Linked DNA regions of Homo sapiens: regions 2 and 3 are each linked to region 1. The links are contacts of gene promoters, found by promoter capture Hi-C in blood cells and fetal thymus (Javierre and others, 2016). All regions are on one chromosome and are shown on one strand. The core of a region is centred on a gene start or on the middle of the fragment in contact, and the rest is flanking DNA. Distances in the headings are between cores, read along the strand shown. Region 1 holds the start of CELF6 (CUGBP Elav-like family member 6). Region 2 overlaps BBS4 (Bardet-Biedl syndrome 4). Region 3 overlaps ARIH1 (ariadne RBR E3 ubiquitin protein ligase 1).

Region 1 (3,029 bases), core at 285-2,784:
CTACAGGAAGAAAGGGGTGTGGCCGAACAGGACCGTGTATCTCTCTAGAAAGGGCAGGGAGAAGATCTCCTTCTGTCTCTTCAGCCTGACTCACCCTGAGAATGGGCCTGGACTGGGACCAGCCTGTGAGGGGAGGGAAAGAAAGAGGCCATAAAGAGGACTGGGGAGGAGCAAAGAAGAGGCACAGGAGTGAGGGGATTAGAGAAGGAAAGAAGTGTGGATTTAGCTGAGAGAAATCCAAGAAGAAAGGGACACAGGGTGGCAGGAGTTCCCAGCTGAGGTCAGGGTTCTGAACTGAAATCAAAAGAGGTAGAGTGCATTGGGATTCTGGCGAAGGGCAGGAGAGATTGGGGCTGTTGTTGAACATGAGGGGGTGTCTGGAACTGAGAGCCTCCTGGGAATTGAATTGGATTTTGTGTTAGACAGGTCTGGGTTCTGAAGAAGGGGAGGGTTTGGGTCTGCGGTGTTTTAGGTTGGCAGTCTGAGAGTCAAAAGAAGGCTCTTGAGGGGGATGGCCGGACTAGGAGGCCAGAGGAGGGGTGCAAGTCCAAGATATGCATGTGGGTGGTTAGGCCTGAGTGAGGTGCCACCAGATGGAGGATTCAGGAGTGTTTGGGCTCAGGGTTTGGGAAATTGAGGGTATTCGAGATCTAGAAGGTGGAATAAGTTTTCAAATTCCAGAATTTTAGGTCTGATGGGAGAGGTGGTGGAAAGGTCCAATTGAAAGGCAGGGACTGCTGGGATGTGAGAGGTGGAGGCCAGGAATTTGGAGGTTAGAGTGGAGAACATGTTAGGGGACCACAGTGATAATCAGAGGGAGGATGTCAGAGAGAAAATTCTGTGATCTGGGAAGGGGGCTGGGCTGAGGTGGGGCTGATATTGGACTGGTGTTGGACTGGCTCTCGGCAGGGCTAGGGCTGGGGCTGGGCTGGGGTCGGGCCACACTCTAATCGGATTGGGGCTGGGCTGGGCTGGGCTGACCCCGCGCACCTTTGTGGAGGCCGGTGAGCCGGTCCTTCAGCACCGTCAGCTCGTAGATGCGGCCGAACTCCTCGAACAGCGGCTTGAGGTCCTGCTCGTCCAAGCCCCGCGGGATCTGCCCCACGAAGAGCTTGATGGCGTCGTGGTCCTTCATGGGTACGGCGGGACCGGGGTTTAGCCCGCTCATGCCGACGCCGCTGTCCGCGGTGCTGAAACCCAGGCGCGGGCCGGGGCCAGCGGGCTGCGCTGACCCTCCCGGCGCCGCGGCCATGTCCCCGCCCTGTCAGCCCTCCCGCCGGTCCCACTGGTCCCGCCTGTCCCGCCGTCCCCTCCCTGGACCGGTGGCGAGGGCCAGGGGGAGGGGGCGGAGCCCGGGCGGAGAGGGCGGGGGGCTGCCCAGGGGGCGGGGTCCGGGTGGAGGGGCGTAGAGGGGGTGGGGCGGGCAGGAAAGGGGCGGGGCCGGGGCGGGGCGGGCCCGGGCCGAGGTGGCGGCTGAACGCTGGGGTCTGGCTTGAGGTCCCCGTGCGGCTCTCTCTGGGCTCCCGCCCGAGCTCTCCCAGAGCCGAGCCCCGAGCCCCAGCCCCCGTGCTTGGTGACGTCAGGCAGCTGGCCGCCGAGTCTACGCAAATGATTTGCATAATGAGGAAGCAGCCGCCAATCAGAGTGGGAGTTGACTGGGCTCGCCGGGGGCGGGGGGGGCGGCTGGGCTCACGCGCTCCTGCTCGCCATGGCAACCGGACCCTCGAATGCCCTGTGTGTGTCGAGTGTGTGCGGGCGTGGCCGTGGATCGCGCGTGTGCGCCTTGGGCCGCGTGAGGGGAAGCAGCTTCGTCATGCGTGATGGTGTCTGCCGGAGTCGGGGCTAATCCCCACCGCACACACAGGCACACACAGGCAAACGCAGGCACACGCAGGCACACACACCTCCAAACGCTGGTGCGTTTCCTGCGGGGGTGGATGGGGATTCCTCTTCTCTATTCCCACTATCGAGCCAGTCCCTCGGAGCCAATCCCACCCCGCCCCATCACACATCTCTGTCTTCGGTGTCTTTAACCACTTTCTTACCCCTGAGCCTCAGACACATTCGTCTCCCTTGCAGCCTTAAAAAGAAAGGAAGAATAAAATAAAAACCCCTTAAACACTCCTTGAACACGGATTCCTCCTTAGGAGAGTGAGGGAACTTAGCCGTATTTACTCAGAACCCATTATGCACCAGGTGCCCAGTTCATCCCAGTTCTGTGAACTCAGGAGTGTTCTCTTTTTCCGGAAAAGGAAGCTGAGGTTCTGAGGGTCGAGGATGTTAGGGCCAGGCCCACCCCAACATTTGTTGGGCCCAGCGCAAAATAAGAAATGGAAATCGACATACTGTGCATCTAAACATTTAAAAGATACAAATCAAATTACAATTTGTTAAATATGTTCCCCTCTTATTTTCACAAATACAGGTTCAGAATTACGAAAATGAAAGACATATGTACAGCTACGCTTTCTATATGACTGAAAGTTGGCAAAATATCAGAGCTGATGGAATTTTATTACTCCTGCACATGTCTAGGTATTCTCTTGATGGATCAGTGATGTTTGCACAAAGTAGTAATACAATGTTTGGACAAAGACACATACTTCATAAATTATATATTTATTCCATAATATATTTTTCATGCCTCTTTCAGTAAAATTGCTAATTATTTTAATAGAGATTTCCTTTTTTTTTTTTTGATAGGTTATCATTCTGTCACCCAGGCTGTAGTGCAGTGGTGCGATCTAAGATCACTGCAGCCTCAACCTCCTGGGTTCAAGCGATCCTCCCACCTAAGCCTCCCAAGTAGCTGGGATGACAGGTGCACGCTACCATGCCTGGATAATTTTTTTTCTTTTTTTTTTTTTGTAGAGATGGTGGTTTCACCATTCTGCCCAGGCTTGTCTAGAACACTCCTGAGCTCAAGTGATCCACCCACCTCGGTGCCCCAGAGTGCTGGGATTACAGGAGTGTGCCACTGCACCTGGCCTAATAGAGATTTTAACATAACTTGTGTCCATTGACTATTC
Region 2 (3,029 bases), core at 283-2,782, 380 kb after region 1:
GGTCTGGCTCTGTTGCCCAGGCTGGTTTTGAACTCCTGGCTTCAAGTGATACTCCATCTTCGGCCTCCTGAAGTACTGGCATTACAGGCATGAGCTATTGCACCTGGGTTATGTAAATTTTTCAGTGGCTTTTAAACCTCATATAATGTTTGTTTGTTGGTTTGTTTTTGAGGCGGAGGCTCGCTCTGTCACCCAGGCTGGAGTGCAGTGGTGCAGTCTCAGCTCACTGCAACCTCCACCTCCTGGGTTCAAGTGATTCTGCTGTCTCAGCCTCCCAAGTAGCTGGGATTATCGGCATGAACCACCATGCCTGGCTAATTTTTTTATTTTTAGTACAGATGGGGTTTCACCACGTTGGCCAGGCTGGTCTTGAACTCCTGACCTCAAGTGATCCACCTGCTTTGGCCCCCCAAAGTACTGGGATTACAGGCATGAGCCACTGCATCCAGCCCAATATAGGGAGGTATTAAGAAAAGAGAAGAACTATCATCCTTAAGTATTAACGGGACTTTAACAAATTAAAAAAGTAGTACTTTGAATAAAAAGCTGTCACATTTTACTGTGAAATCCTTAGACTTTTTTTATACCTCTAGTTCAGGTTTTTTCAGCTTTGGCATGAATGATATTTTGAGCAAGATAAATCTTTGTTGGAGTTGTCCTGTATATTGTAGGATGGTTAACAACATCCCTGGCTTCTACCTGGTAGATGACAGTAGCACTTAATTGTAACAACCAAAAGTGTCTCCAGATGTTGCCAGTTATTCCTTCTGGGGCAAAATTGTTCCCACTTGAGAACCACTGCTCTGGTTAAGTAGTGTAATACTTGGAAATAGAAGGCAGAAAGTTGGTAAGTGCATAAAGAATTCACACAGAAGTTGGATTAGCAAGCTGAGAGACGTTATTTGAACAAGTAGCAATTGGAGGCATTTTGACTGAGAATGGATGTTGTGCCTCTCCCTCACTCTTTCCTCCTCAGCTTGAGAGGTCCATATTCTCTCAAAGTTTGACTCTTTAGTTTTGAGGGTGATGACTGCCAACTGTGGAAGGGATAAACAGATTTCTGTTTGGTATTTTTGTCCAAATATATCAGGACTTTTTCAAGAACAGGCAATGAAATTATTGATCAGAACTACTTGGTGGTTCTGAGAAAATAATATGCTACATGAGGCTACTGAAGTCCTCTTCCTTTTGCCCCATGATGTAACCTTAGGTGACTTTCTTCTGGCTTTCAGTTGAAGATCTTACCCATCATTGAGGTGAGCGAACTGATTTACTGCTTGAGTCTATTTTCTTCCTTAAAGGAGTCTTCATTGAAAACTTTACCCATTTTGGGGTGGCCATAGCTGAGGATGAGTTTTGTCCACAACCTGAGACAACATACTCACTATGTAAAAAACCTGATCTCAGCTTGATATCTGGTTTTAGACTAATTGTTTAATAGAATAATTTATTATTGTAAAATATATATAAAATTTACCATTTTTAAGTGTGTAAGTCAGTGGCATTAAGTACATTTACAAAGTTGTGCAGCCATCACCACTGTCCATTTCTAGAAGTGTTTCATCATTCCAAACAGAAACACTGTACCCATTAAACAATAAATCTCCACATCCCCTTGCCTCCCCAGATCCTGGTAATCTCCATTCTATTTTCTGTATCTATGAATTTGACTATTCTAGGTTTTTCATGTAAGGTGAATCATACAATATTTGCCCTTTTCTGCCTGGCTTATTCCACTCAGCATTTTCAAGATTCATTCATGTTGTAGCATGTGTCAGAATTTCATTCCTTTTTAAGGCTGAATAATATTCTAGTGTATGTATATATCACATTTTGTTTATCTGTCTGTTGATGGGCATTTGGGTTGTTTTCCTTAGAGTCTTTATATGTCAGTAATTCTTAAAGAATTTAAAAGTTGTAGAAACTAGGAATTTTGTAGATATTCTAGAAATATGTCATTTCCTGTACTGTATATAATAATTTATTCTACAGACTAATTACTGTGTATATATTTGGTTCTCAGACGTGATTTTGATTTTGTAGATGCTGTACATGCTCTTCACTTCATTAATCTTTTCCTTTTGCTAATTTTGGTTCTTGTGTATACAGAATTATAGAGTTACAAGGTAATTTAGTTGTTACCTAATTCACCCTAAAGTCTACATGAAACCACTGTCACAGTCTTTGATAAGTAGTTACCAAATCTCACTATTTCTACTGTGATAGTGAATGACTTTCATTGATTAGCTTTCTGAAAGAATAGTTTATCTTACTTGTCTTGGTATCCTCACCTCTGAGTCTATTTGTCTATTGTAATCTGGCTTTTGCTCCACCGCTCCACTGATTAAATGGATGAGCTAAGCATTTTTTTTTTTTTCCACTGCAACCTCTGCCTCCCGGGTTCAAGTGATTCTCTTGCCTCAGCTTCCCGTGTAGCTGGTATTACAGGTGCCCACCACCATGCCTGGCTAATTTTTTGTCTTTTTAGTAGAAACGGGGTTTCACTATGTTGGCCAGACTGGTATCGAGCTCCTGACTTCATGATCCACCCCAAAGCCTCCCAAAGTTCTGGGATTACAGGTGTGAGCCACCGTGCTTGGCCCAATTCTGTTTAATTTTTGAGGAACAATGTTAACTTCTAATTTAAATGGAAGGTAGTATATATCTAATTTTTCCCTATTATTTTTAATTTCAATGCTAGTAAATCTTTAAATCTGAAATACACACTCTTGAATTTTGACAGATATGTATACTCATGTACATATTTATATTCCTGTAATCATCAGATCAAATTAAACATTTTTATCACTTAGAAAGTTTCCTCATGCCTTTTTCCAGTAAGTCTTCTGCTTCACTTCGCCAGATGCAACCACCATTCTGATTTCTGCCTGTATAAATTGATTTTGAACTTTCCTATAATAAGTTGTGCTTGAACTTCACACAAAGGGAGCCATACAGTATCTACTATTTAGCTTTTGGCAGCTTTCATACAACATGTTGTTTTGGAGATTCATCCGTGTTGTTATATG
Region 3 (3,029 bases), core at 371-2,870, 280 kb after region 1:
GTACAAAATTCAAAATGTATTAAAGGTATAGAGTAAAAAGTCTTCTCTTCCCTGTCCCCCCGCTACCCAGTTCTCCTCTTTAGAACCACTTTTAGCATTTTGAATATCCTTCCAGAAATATTTTCTAAGTATACAAGCAATTATGTATATAATATTCCTCTTTATTTTTGCCTTTTTATTAATACAGATACTATATGCATTTTCTGCACTTTATCTGTTAATAATATATCTTGGCAATTATTCAATATTAATATGTAAATAGTTGCCTCTTTCTTTTTCATGCGCCATATAATATGGACTTATAATTTATTTAACCTCTATCTAGGTTGGTTTTAGGCATTGGTTATTACAAATAATGCTGCATTGAATACCTTTGTATGTAAAGTCATTTCCCACATCTATGCCTATAGAATAAATTACTAGAATTGAAATAATTCAGTTAAAGATTATGTGCATTTTTAATTTTGGTAGTTATTGCCAAACTGCTCTCAATGGAAGTTTTATGAATTCCCACTAGTGAATGCATTTGTCCTCACAATTATGTCAGTGAAATTTTTGTTCTTTGCCAATGCAAGAAATGGAAAGTATCTCTTGGAAACTAATTTGCATGTTTTTTTTCCTTGCACAGTTATATTTTCATATGTTAAAGAGCCATTTGTATTTCTTGGTGAATTGTTCATAAACTTTGCTTACTTATTATCTAATGTCTGACTAATTTGCTACACTCTAAATTCCCAATTCATACTTAAGTCTCGCCCTTGCAATTTAGATGTACAATCTGCCTCTTCAGTGGTTTCCACACCAAAAAATCCACAGGCTCCTGAATTTTATATGGGCCTAAGAGTCTTACTGAAAATTGGAAGTCTTAAGGTGTAGTCTATTTTATGCAGTGTGAGGCCTTTCATGCTCTGAAATGTACCACTCTTGACTGACTTTTTCTTCTTCACCCTGTCCGGCACTGTGCCCTTATTAGCCAGAGAAATGTTCCCCCTTTCTCCCAGGAAACGTTCTGACCTTACCCTGGTCCCTCAAGGACTCTCCTTCTCCCCCAAATTAACTTTCAAGGAGTTTCTCCAACCCAAAATGGCACCCTTCCTGAAAAGATTTCTAGTGGATACTGTTTTCTGTACCTCACTACGGATGTATTTTGCTGCTTGGCTCCCCGTCTCCATTTTGCTATGGCAAACATTTTTTTCCAGAAATATATCAGATAAAATGAACATGTGGTCCCTTTTGTTGATTTTTGTTGGGATCCATGGTATTGATTTCTTCTAGTTTAGATAATTCCACCGTGGCAAGCTTTTATTCCTAGCATAGCGCTCATGAGGAGAATGTTAGTCACTTGGTGTTATTAATGCTAAAATAGTAAACAAGAACACAAAATTTGCTAGATTAGAAGTGGATTTTTTTTCCAGGCTGGGCACAGTGGCTCATGCCTGTAATCCCAGCAGTTTGGGAGGCTGAGGCAGGCAGATTGCTTTGAGCTCACGAATTCGAGACCAGCCTGGGCAACATGGAGAAACCCCGTCTGTACTGGGGCTAATTTTACCAAAAAAACTAGCCAGGTGTGGTGGCACACACCTGTGGTCCCAGCTACTGGGGAGGCTGAGGTGGAAGGATGGCTTGAGCCTGGGAGGCAGAGGTTGCAGTGAGCCTAGTTAGTGCCATTGCACTCCAGCCTGGGTGACATGTCTCAAAAAAAAAAAAAAAAAAAAAAGGTAAGGAATGAATTAACATGAATGAAAAAGGCATGATCTGCAGTCAGTCACCCATGGTCAAAGATAGCAGATACCAATTCATTCTCAGAGCGAAACGAAATCAGCCCAATGCTTTTGGCAAACTGTGGTTGCCTCCCTGTCATCATCATCTGGGCTCACTGTGGCTCGCCCTTCTGGCCTTGCTTCTGACCTTGCCATCTCTGGGGAGGCTTCTTTGCAAGCCCAAGCTTGGGCTCCCCTTCTCAGAACCATGTGCATACTTGTCCTGGAACTGTTTTTTTTTTTTTTTTTTTTTTTTTTTTTTTTTTTTTGCCTGTGCCTCTTGGAGGGCAGGGGCCATCTGGCACAAACCTGCATCCCCGCAGTTGCTAAATTAATGAACAAACAAATACCAAGTCTTTCACAATGTAACTTGAGAGTGGAGGTAGTGGTAGTGGCAACTCCATCTGGGGGATGAGAGAAGGTGGAGGCTGAGTTTTGGGGATGGCTTGCAACAGAAGAGGAGAGATTATTAGCAGCTAAAGGAGTGGCCAGGGTGAACACCAAGCATTTTCCTGACTGGGGAGCTGTGGGTTTGTTTATGGCTGGGTAAGGGGTGAAACCAGTGAGCAGGAGAGATAGCTAGTACTGGACTGGAGTGAAAGGCATCTGTAGAGGCAGGAGACAGGATGGGGAGGTAGAGGAGTTGGCCTAGGACAGGACAGCACTTATTTGAAGACTGGTGGGCAGGAGGAAAGGAAGGAGAGGGATTGAGAAATGACCTGGAGGTCCTCAGTCAGCTGGGAGAAGACCTGGAAGAGGGGGATTGGCTGCTGTTGGGATGGAGAGGAGGGCCAGGGGAGGCAGTGACTCACACGGAGGGAGGCTCGGGGATGGGGACTTTGGCAGTGGGGGGTGGGAAAGACATACTCGCAGGGGATCGGAAGGCCCCGTGGCAACTTTGTGTAAGTCCTGGTTCAGTCAAGGAGAGGAATCCGAGGGAAATGCCTGATTGGACCCATGGCCCACTCTGAGAGAAAGGGGTACTGTGGGTGTGCAGGAGGAAGAGCAGCTGGGAAGTAGGAGTGCCTAGGACTGGATCCAACTGGAAAGGGGGCAGATATGCTCCCAGGATCAGGGTAGGGACCCTCTAGGAAGGGGGCGTTCTGAGAGGGAGGTTGTGGGGAGCACTGTATGGGGGTCCTTGGAGGTGATTTCTGGGAAGGGGAAGTCTGGGGCAGGGCTGTGAGGAGTCAGGAAAGAAACTGTGGAGTCCGTTCCTCACCCACCTCCTGAGCCCTGGGGTCTGAGGCCCCCAGGAAAGAGGGTTCA

The links. The method cuts DNA at HindIII sites, captures the fragments that hold promoters and counts their contacts. A CHiCAGO score of 5 or more calls a contact.
Region 2: a fragment that was not itself captured here is called in contact with the fragment with the promoter of CELF6 in region 1 in 1 of 17 cell types (neutrophils); the score reaches 7.4 in neutrophils.
Region 3: a contact is called between a fragment that was not itself captured here and the fragment with the promoter of CELF6 in region 1, in 3 of 17 cell types (M1 macrophages, M0 macrophages and monocytes). The highest score is 5.8, in M1 macrophages.

The regions. Positions count from the first base shown.
Region 1 is chr15:72,318,623-72,321,651 of GRCh38, forward strand. CELF6 (CUGBP Elav-like family member 6) reads right to left here and starts at 1,535. Exons shown (of 13, transcript NM_052840.5): 1 at 991-1,535. The coding sequence starts at 1,252. RefSeq lists silencers at 1,222-1,561, 1,622-1,671. The HindIII fragment of the contact is 9,541 bases long and covers 1-3,029 here.
Region 2 is chr15:72,696,782-72,699,810 of GRCh38, forward strand. All of the region lies in intron 2 of BBS4 (Bardet-Biedl syndrome 4), which reads left to right. Among named protein-coding and RNA genes, the nearest start is that of BBS4, 12 kb to the left of the region's middle. The HindIII fragment of the contact is 7,034 bases long and covers 1-3,029 here.
Region 3 is chr15:72,601,768-72,604,796 of GRCh38, forward strand. It overlaps ARIH1 (ariadne RBR E3 ubiquitin protein ligase 1), which reads left to right. Exons shown (of 14, transcript NM_005744.5): 14 at 1-1,220. It also overlaps the pseudogene LOC100420930. Among named protein-coding and RNA genes, the nearest start is that of MIR630, 16 kb to the left of the region's middle. The HindIII fragment of the contact is 646 bases long and covers 1,298-1,943 here.